3 separate regions of the Homo sapiens genome follow, and all the other regions are linked to region 2. The links are contacts of gene promoters, found by promoter capture Hi-C in blood cells and fetal thymus (Javierre and others, 2016). All regions are on one chromosome and are shown on one strand. The core of a region is centred on a gene start or on the middle of the fragment in contact, and the rest is flanking DNA. Distances in the headings are between cores, read along the strand shown. Region 1 has its middle 6.9 kb from the start of LINC02957. Region 2 holds the start of ROR2 (receptor tyrosine kinase like orphan receptor 2). Region 3 has its middle 28 kb from the start of LINC02957.

The links. Contacts are between HindIII fragments. The CHiCAGO score rates a contact against its expected background, and 5 or more counts as called.
Region 1: a contact is called between a fragment that was not itself captured here and the fragment with the promoter of ROR2 in region 2, in 1 of 17 cell types (M1 macrophages). The highest score is 5.4, in M1 macrophages.
Region 3: a fragment that was not itself captured here is called in contact with the fragment with the promoter of ROR2 in region 2 in 1 of 17 cell types (M2 macrophages); the score reaches 5.6 in M2 macrophages.

Annotation. Positions count from the first base shown.
Region 1 is chr9:90,988,426-90,991,813 of GRCh38, forward strand. No RefSeq gene overlaps it. Among named protein-coding and RNA genes, the nearest start is that of LINC02957, 6.9 kb to the right of the region's middle. The HindIII fragment of the contact is 894 bases long and covers 888-1,781 here.
Region 2 is chr9:91,948,892-91,952,264 of GRCh38, forward strand. It overlaps ROR2 (receptor tyrosine kinase like orphan receptor 2), which reads right to left and starts at 1,337. Exons shown (of 9, transcript NM_004560.4): 1 at 976-1,337. The coding sequence starts at 1,072. RefSeq lists enhancers at 128-629, 630-1,129 and silencers at 1,323-1,502, 1,616-1,910. The HindIII fragment of the contact is 6,243 bases long and covers 1-3,083 here.
Region 3 is chr9:90,967,288-90,970,499 of GRCh38, forward strand. No RefSeq gene overlaps it. Among named protein-coding and RNA genes, the nearest start is that of LINC02957, 28 kb to the right of the region's middle. The HindIII fragment of the contact is 3,335 bases long and covers 1-3,196 here.

The DNA of each region.
Region 1 (3,388 bases), core at 85-2,584, 960 kb before region 2:
CTGGCTTGTTGAGGTTCCTATGACTCAGCAATAGATAACTAAAACAGGTTCCAGTGTTTATCCCAGTTTTGCCCAATCCCAATCTTCACTGAAGGATGCCATTTGACCATCAATTAGTCGCTGTGTCCTCTAAGGAAGCATGCAGACAGCAAGTTTGTGGTGTTTACTAAAGAAACACTCTATGTTTGACCCATTGCACTGGACACAGATGGCTGCCTTGAGAGTCAGGGCTCCTATGGTACATATGTCTTTATTTTATAAGCAGGATGACCATATTTTCTGAACCACAGACCCAGGAATGTGGTTTGACAATTATAAATGCAATCAGGAGGCAAGAAGACCGAATATTTTAAATCAGCACTACCCCAGAAAATACGGAAATTATACTGGTTGTGCTTACTGTCTGTCGTGTTTTATAAATAAACCTTAGACAATCTACGTACCCTTCATGTTTCTACTCCTTTGTTAGTAATAAACTACTACATCCTTCACAGATTGTGGAGATTAAATGAGATAATTCACACATAATCAGGAGACTATATGGCACATTGTAGAACTGCTCCATAAATATTAGCTAATTACATTTTTATAGTTGCTATCTCTTTATGTCCCTTTCATATACCTTAAGTACAGTAAGTGTTCAATAAATAGTTGTTTATGGAAGTTAAGGTTGTTTGTTGGGATTATGGAGTCTATTAGTTGGCTATTGTTGTGTAACAAATTACCATAAACTTAATGGCTTCAAACAACTTCCATTCATTATCTCACAGTTCTGTAGGTCAGAAGTCCAAGTGGGCTCAACTGGGGTCTCTACTTAGGGTCTTTCAGGGCTGAAATTTTGGCTGGGCTGGGCTCTAACCAAGGTTCTGAGGAAGAGTCTGCTTTTAAGCTTGTTCAGGTTGATGGGAGAATTCCATTTTTTGCTATTGCTTGACTGACTTCTCCATTTCTTTGTTAGCTGTCAGTCAAGGGCCATTCTCAGCTCCTAAGGCCATTTGCATTCTTTGCTCCATGGCCTCCTCTATCTTCAAAGCCAGTAATTGTTCATCAAATACTTCTCATACTTGGAATCTCTCTGACTTCCTCTTCTTCTACCAATCAGATAAAACTCCACTTTAAAAAAATAGATTTAGGAGGTACAAGTGCAGTATTGTTACATGTATGTGGATATATTTCATCATGGTGAAATCTGGACTTTTGCGTACACGTCACTCAAATAGTGAACATTGTACCAAATAGGTAGTTTTTTAACCTTCACCCCATTCCCATCTCCTCATCTTTTGGAGTCTCTAACATCTGCTATTCCACTTTATATGTCCATGCATACCCAGTGTGTAGTTCCCACTTACAAGTGAGAACATGCAGTATTTAACTTTCCGTTTCTGAGTTATTTCACTTATGATAATGATTCCAGGTCCATCTATGTAAAACTCTATATTTAAAGGGCTCATATGGTTAGGTTAGGCCCACCCAGATTATATTTTTATTTTAACATCAACTCATTAGTGACCGTAACCACATAGGCAGGATTTCTTTGCTATATCACTTAACCTAATCATGGATGCTGCAATGGGGGCAGAGATCATTAGGGCCACCTACAGTTCTGTCCACCAGAGTACAAACTCTGGCCCCATAATTCACTCTCACTTGCAGAAAACATTTACCTGCTCCCCAAGGTTTCCAACAGTCTCATCCCATTATCACACTAGATAAAGTCCAGAATCTCACCAGCTCAAAAGCCCAAAACTCATTATCTACTTATCTGAATCAGGTGTAGATAAAGCTTCTGAGTGTCACCCATTAAGTACAGCTCCAGGGGCACAATTTGTCTCCACCTACACACCTGTGAAATAAAAGACACAAGGTATCTTTCTCCAATACTCCCAACACACAATGGTGGAAAGAATAACAGTTATAGAACTCAAGTCCAAAATTGGGGAAATGGAAGGTAAAAAGGAGTCATTTGTTTCAATCTGTTTTGAAACCCAGCTGGGCAAAATCCACCAGGTCTCAAAGCCAGGTAACCTGTGTCTCTCAGCTGCTCTGGGCTTTCATCTTCAACTTCTGGGCTCCTGCTTTAGCTCTTAGAGTCATGCTCCGTTTTTCACAAAAGGTGACAGGTGTTTGCAGCTGGGGAATTTTATCAGTCTGCTTTTGCCATTTTGTAATATCTATATTCCATTTAGTCCTAGTTGGCATCTTTATTTTCTGCTAATCTGTTTTGCTAAAATATTTCCACTAATACAATGTTTTTTTCTAAAGTGTGTGGGCCTTGTGTGTATTTTCACTGGGTTTCTCTGCATTAGACAAAAGCTATACACACAAATCTTTCTCTAATAATCTCTTCTCTATCTTTGGCTTCTGCTTGGAGTGCTGAACACCAGTGTTTTTAAGCTTCCCAGAGGCTCTCTGGTTTGATTAGAAGATCTACATGGAACACTCTTAATCCCTTGGAAGAGTCATTATGTGGCTGAATACACAAGACCTCTGAGCTTTCCAGGGTTTCAGCAAAGAGCTGCACAAACACATATTCAGCCTTTTCTCTATGTCATAATTTTGGCATCCATCTCTGACTTCTAGGGGTATTTTTTGCCACCTGGAGAGGCTAAACTTTTGAAATTATCAAGTCGTTGTCCCTTCAATAAGTCTTCCTTCAATATGTCTCTCTTCTATTACATTTTAACATAAAAAGCAAGAAAAAAACAAGCAGCACCTTCAACACTTTGCCTGGAAATTTCCTTAGCTATATATTCCAGTTTATTACTTATGAGTTCTGCTTTTTATGTAACAACTGGACACAATTTCACTAAACTTTCTGCAATTATATAACAAGGATCTCTTTTCTTCAGGTTTCCAATAACGTGTTTCTCACTTCCTTCTTGGCCCATGTCAGTAGTATCCTTAAAGTCCAGATTTCTACTAGCAATCTGTTTAAAGTGATTCAGCTTTTTCTATAATGCTCCTCACTTTTTTCTGAGACTTCACTGGCAGAGTCTTTAACACACATATCTCAGTCAACCAATCAAACTATTAGAGTCCTTTCTAACCCATCACTTTAAAACACTGAGTCCATACTCTCAGTGAGCCTGTATCAGTAATTTCAGACTGATACAACTTTATATTCCTTCCACTTTGATGCCACACCCTTAAGATCCATTCCCACACATATTCCCCAGGTTTCTGTCACTATAAGCTAGAAACATCACATAGTTCTTTTGGTGTCCATCACACCTCTCTGTGGGTCACAACTTGTACTTCACCTTAGGATCTACTGGGACTTGAGCCTCACGATAGGTCTCTAGGTCCAGAGGAGGATCAGCAGTGCCTATAGGGTCACTAGGTCAGAAAAGCTCATCATAAGTCTTCAGTAAAGGGGGGATAACCTCAG
Region 2 (3,373 bases), core at 87-2,586:
CGGGAGGTGCTCCCGGAGTCTGCACCGCCAGAGCTAACGCCGCCTCCTCCAGGCAACCTAGGCAGGTCCCAAGCTGCACTTCCGAACCTCCCCGCCGTTCCTCTGCGCCCCGGATCCAAGCAGCCGAAACCGCGCAGGGACTCGGGGGAAGTGGGGCCCCGGGAGGAAACCCACCTAGGAGCCGGGCCCCGCCCCTCCCGCCGCCAGCCTCCTACAGGTCCCGGGGGTCCCCCCGGCGCGGCCAGAAGGCGGCCGCGCCCCAGCCGCTCAGGGACCCGCGATCCCAGTCACAAACCATTTCAATCCAGATCACACACCACTTCGGCCACCCCAGAGCGGTGGGGGAGAGGAGGTTTCAGGGACCAACAAAAGGGATGCCAAAGAGCCCGTTTCCATCAAGCGGCCCGCGGGCTGGGAAAGTCAGGACCCGGGAGCCGCCGGCGCCCCCACCCCCGCCGCAAGAGCCGCTTCTCCGGGGCCACGTCCACCCCAGGATTCTGCCAGGCATCAGGCCGCCCTGGGGGTGGGGGGACGCTCCGAGACAGACGGGGGACACTCGGGGCCGTGTGCCCTTGAAGGAGGAAGACCTCGGGGAGGAAGCCCGGGTCCTGGGACCCTCGGGGCACATCTGCGGACTCGGGTCCCGGGCCCAGGGCGGGTACTCACATTCACACTCGCACTCCCACTCGCGACCCTCGGGAAGCGCCACCGAGAGGCTCCCAGCCGCCGCCGCCCGCCCCCAGACTCTGGAAACACTTAGGCGTCCCCAGAGCGCGGCTTATTGTAACCAGCCCGAGGGGGTCCGGGGTGCGGGCCGGGAGCGGCGTCGGGCGAGATGCGAATGGCCCTGCCTGGCGCCCCTCGTTCAGGAGCATGGGCGCCGGCGCAGCGGCCGGGAGCATAGTGGCGGCGGAAGGGCTGGCCAAGCGAGCCGTGAGCTACCGTCTGCGCACAAGCCGGAACGCCAGATCCTACCTGAAGTCCGGGACACTGAGAGCAGAAGCGCGGCGGCCGCCCAGACGGCCGGGATGCACAGCAGCGGCCGCCGCGGGAGCGCCGAGCCCCGGGCCATGCCGCAGGCAGTGGGGGCCGGGAAGCCCTCAGAGCTTCGGGCCGGGGCGCGGGGTCGGGCGCCACCACCCCTTTCTACGATGCGTCCGCTCCTCCTTCTCCCTGGCGCTTCGCAAACGGGTCCACTTCGAGGACCTCGTCGTCGTCCTCTTCTCCGGCCCGGATGCGCCGCTCGGCTCCGGCCACGGCAAGGGCTGGCTGGGGAGGTTCCTTGGCGCGGGCTGGGGCGTCCCGCCGGCCGCCAGGACGAGCGCGGGGGGCGGACCGCGGGCGAGCGCGCAGGAGGCAGGGTCCCCGCTCGCCCGCCCCGATGGGCAGAGCGAGGCTTGCGCCGGCGCCCCCTGCCGGGGGAACGCGCGGGCGGCGGGCGGGACCCAAGGAGCTGGGGCTGCAGCTGGGGCCCCGGACCTGCCTCCTGCGCCCGCCCTCGGGCCTGCGCCTCGGAACGCTTGAACACAAAGGTGGCGCCTTGGGGGCGTCAGCCGGAGTTCGGCGGGTCTGCCCACGCAGGAGAGGCGCCCAGAGCGGGTGCCCCCGACTTTCGGGGGCGACACACCCGGGGATCTAGGTCACAAATCAGTAACTCCAGGCTGCACTGCGCACCGGGACAAATCTGAGAGCCACCCAGCCCCAGACACCAGCGGTGAGGCAGGAAGAGGAGAAGCGAAAGTTGCAAAAGGAAATGTTCAGGAAAACAAACAGGCCGCCTTGGCACCGGCGCCCTCCCAGGTCGGTGGGGACAAGCGCGTCCCCCGAAATGCTCAAAACTGCCAGGGGTCGAGCTGCGTGGAGGGAGCCCTCGGGAGCGCGATGCTATCCGAAGCCACCGCGGCTTTTGGTTTACTGTTAAAAGCAAATTGTATAATTTTACCCATTAAAGGCAGAACACTATTTGTTCTCTGCAGAGGCCCAGAATGTGCAGAATTTGCTTCACTTATTAGAGACATTTTGAACGGAATTCAAATAGCATGTTTTCTTGCTTATTCTTGGTTTTGCTCAGCACATGCAAATGTCTTTGTTTTTCCTCTTAGAGGAAGGAATTGGATTCTCCAGCATCTCAGTTGCTTGTTCCATGAGATTGATCTTTTAACTGATTATCCAGCAGTTTGTTTGGTGTTTTTGCTGGAGTACCAAGCTCTGTTAATTGGAGGGCATTAGGGAGAGCCCTGGCCTTGGGTGCCAGACGTGAGGCCTCAGACGTGGCCAGAAATAAAAACTCTCTTGCTATGGTCTGCGGACAAAATGACTAAGCCAGCTCTAGCTTGTTACCTCTGTTAAAAGTATTTAGGCGTCCGGCTATCTCTACCCAATTTGTGTAGGGAAATATCTCACGCAGTTCTCATTCCCAGGAGCTGCTGTAAATCCAGTAGGAGAATGGGAGAAGATCCTAGCCCCTCCTCAACTGGATGGCAAAATTATTACCAAACTTCTTAGACGGGCTCAGGCTGTTCCTCTGCCCAGGCTGGTGCGGGTCTGAACGGGGGGGCTGCTCTCCCCAGTGGTTAGAGGACTGCCAGGGGTTTATCTTTGGGGTTTTCCTCCCTTTAGCTTCCCTTAGAATCCTTAAGGATGCTTTTAGAGTAATGTTTTAAGAGTAGGTGCTGAAGCACTTAGTTCCACACCCCTCTCTTCTGGATCTAGGGAAAACCCAACAGGGGCTGCAGAGAAGGGTCTTGAACCTGCCCTGGAAAACCCCTCCCTCAGCAATGCTGTGTCCTTTCCGTGGTGCTGTGCAGCTCGGAGAAGGTGGTCCCAGCACCTTTGCTTTCCACTTCACACAGCGTGAGCATGTGGCTCCAGAACCATTTCATCAGCAGCCCTGCCATTTATTTTTGTGTGACCTTCAGGAAAATGACCTCATCATGCCCCCATCTGTGTGTTATTTTCACATGACTGAGGCCCCACAAACCCAACTCAAAGGTTTAAACAGCAACATATATTTTGCTGACAGTTTCTTGGGTGGAGTCAGAAATGTGGGTTATATTGCATATGATTTCTTAAAAGCCTTTTAAAGCTTTCTTTTTTGGCATTTCTCTCTCACTCTCTCCTTCCCTTTCTGTAGGTTCTGAACTGAAGGATAAACAAAAAAAGCAAAGTTGGAAGGATGAAAATACAAGCTTTCTCAGTGGTTAAGAGAATATGGCTTACGTCCAAGGCCAAATTGGAGCAACATATTCCTTTCCATCTGTATTAGTCATCAATTGCCACATAACAAATTGCCCCACGATTTAACAGCTAAAAACAGTAAACATTCGTTATTTCACACCATTTCTCTGGGTCGAGAAGGCAGGAGAGACTTAGC
Region 3 (3,212 bases), core at 279-2,778, 980 kb before region 2:
GGAAGGCCCATATTGTAGAAGAGCTCGTGAGATGGGAGATGTTGACGTCAGCTTTGGAAAATGCGAGCTTCCCCAGAATCTGACCATGGTGACGTGGGAAGGGACTTAGGACCCTCCCTTTCTCCTTTTACACATTGTGAGGCTCTGAGTAGGAGTTGGAACCTGGGTTTCCAGACCCCCCGCCCCCGCCCAGAGCTGCTTCTACCAGGCCACACACACTTCCATTTACATTTCAAAGAAAAGTTGCTTTATGTTTCTCTTCACGTGTTTTTTTTTTCTTTCTGCCTTCTGTGTTCTCTAGATCAAATGAAGAAAGCCCATTTATTATTTATTCCAGGTATGTCCTAGATGCATACAATTTCTTCCCAGTGATTATTTAAGATAAAAATGAAGATTGGGCTTTATCTTTTAAATGAGAGTCAAACAAGCACCCTGGCTTGTTAACAGAGAAGTCAGTGCCATACCCTGCATTGCTTCTGCAATCTCCTTAATCTGCTCTTTCGTGGATGCATTTAGTGAATCCACCTGGCCCTGATTAACTGGGCTTTGTAAAGAAAGGCCCCTCACATGGAGTCAGACATTGAAAGATATTCAGTGTTTTAACATTGAGTGGGGAGGCAGGGAAACAATGGGAATTCTCTTATAGTAATGATCCATTTTAGGTCACCTTTCACCATTGGACTACATGAGTTGGGATATAGGCTGCATGGCTATAACAAAGGCCTGAAAATACAGTGGCAGAAATACATTTATTTCCCTCAAATACAAGACGACAAAGGCAAACAGCCTGGGCCAGTGTGACTACTCTGCCACTTTCAACACATGGCTTCTATTTCTGGGTTCCAGGCAACTACTCCAATTTCCTAGATTGAGGGGTCAGGGGGAGGAAGTAGTGGACATTTCCCTTTTTTCCTAAGGCACACATCGCTTCTTTTCTCATCTCATTGGCCCAAACTTGGTCACATGGACATGTCTAGCAGCAAAGGAGTCTAGGAAATGCAGTCTCTAGATGAAAGTCTAGGCATGCAATTAAAATTCTGAGGGTTTCTATTCCTAAAAGGAAGAAAAGATGAATGGATGTTGGGAACAGTTGGCTATCTCTGTCCTGCACTAATACATTTATCTTCTTGGTTTCCCATGAAGAAGCAGAGATCATGGGAATTGCTATGGGGTAGCACTTGTTATGGACCAGGGATACAAGTTGCCACAGCAACCACACTAACTGGCTGGTGCCACCCACAATGTTATCTTTTTTTCTCTACCCTTTGCATAAGTGATGTCTCTAAATGAGCAAGATTGTAAGAAACAAATGCTGTGGACTGAATGTCCACTGTTTCTTGGTCATTGGTTCTCTGTAACAGTCTGTTAGTCTTTAGAGCCAGATACAACTGGGTTCAAATCCCAGCTCTGCCAATAGCTATGTGGGGGCCTCAGTTTCTTCACCTAAAAATTAGATACCCTATTACTTGCTGCCTAGGGTTAACGTGCGGGTAAAGTGAAAGAATGTAGGTGAAGCACAGTGCCTGGCACTTAATAGAAACTCAAAAAAGGGTCCTAACCATTACCATTACCAGGAAGGACATACTCTATAAGAGCCTGGTTTGCCAGTCTGATCAACAGATTTGTGTCAATTGTGGCAAAGGAGACCCTGGGGACCTCCAGAAGCCTCCTGTGCTGACTCTCCAGTGCTTACTGGGTCCACCTCTAGGGCCAGCCTCACCCACCACATTGGCTTGAGGTGCAACTGGAAAGTCTGAGTCAATTCATTCTTCCAATGCTGCCCCAAAGAGGGTACAGACTTCCCACCAAGCCCTACCTCAGTTGACTTTGGCCTTCCTAGCTTAGGCTGAGCCTCTTGGGAACACAGCAGCCAGCACCTGGCTTCCGCGTGCAGTTAGACACCCAGAGATGAGCCGGGGGAGTTCAGAACGCCTTCTCCCTGTGAGCCATGTGGTGGCATGCTTGACTATTGCGATGTTGGCTAGACACTCTGGCTTTGTAGGAGTCTGGGATTTGGGGGTTATCTTCTTCAGGTCACATGGCCCTCGTTTAGAATCTGGGGTCCCCCAGCCGGGATTCCCATCTTTCAGAAACACCTCAGCCAGCTTAAGGCATCTGCTCCAATGGTCTCCATGACAACCCTGAAGAGCCTGCAGTGAGCAGCCAGCAGAACTTGCCAGCCGAGAGGCTCATCCCACTAATTGGATAATGTATATGAAAGAGCTGATCACACCTGGCACCTGAATCAAAGGGTGAACTCACCAGACATGAATCATGCCAGCCTGTTAAGTAGGTACAAGCGTTTTTATTCCTGGCCATAGGAGCAGCCTTGCTTGTAATTAACCATCATCCCTAATATCTGTCTAATGCCCATAACACCCCCGAGAGGAGTTTTGTCATTCTTATTTTGTAAATGAGTAAGATACAGAACTTAATCAGAACTCAAGGATTCTTATTTGGTGGGCTGTTTAAGCTGGAGTAAATGTTTGTTTTTTACTGACCATCATGATGTCAACATTGCCTTTAAAAAACAGGGAATAGAAGAAGAAAAGGAAAAAAGGAGGGAGGGAGAAAGAGAGAAGGAAAAAAGGAAAGAGAAAATGGTGATTAGATGGTGTGGTGTGGAATCAACATAAGGTTACCAAGTGTGTATGATTTCACAGATGTTAAATACCATGACTACTGCTATTAACTACTCCCGCCACATCACCACATCTGCAGAATCTAAGACAAGAATGTGAGAAAAAACAATGACAGTCCTAAAGGACAATTGGCAACTTGGATCACCATCCCCCCAGGGTCCCCATTTTCCTAATTTCCACTTAGAGTAGTTACAACTTGAGCATTCCCACACATAGAAATCAAAGGGCCAGGCCTCAGCACCAGGCTGCACCCAGTACAGCCAGACTCCCTTCTTGCTTCATTACAGTGGGCTTGCATTTGCCTCCAAGGATGTCCAGGGCTCTGGAAACCAAACCTTCCAGCCTTTGGACTTTTTCAGCTACAAAATATGGATCAAGTATGAACTAGTAACAACCCATTAAAATATATGTGTATGGTTTGGAAAAGATCATGTATTTTAAAGTGAAAGCAAAGACTTAGCACTGAGTAAAAGTTAAATATTTTTGTTCAATTCAGTCTGAAAATAGAAAAACAGAAAGTGGTGTCTAAGAGCTTATGGGCATGAAGGAAATCAAGCTTGGGCAAAACAA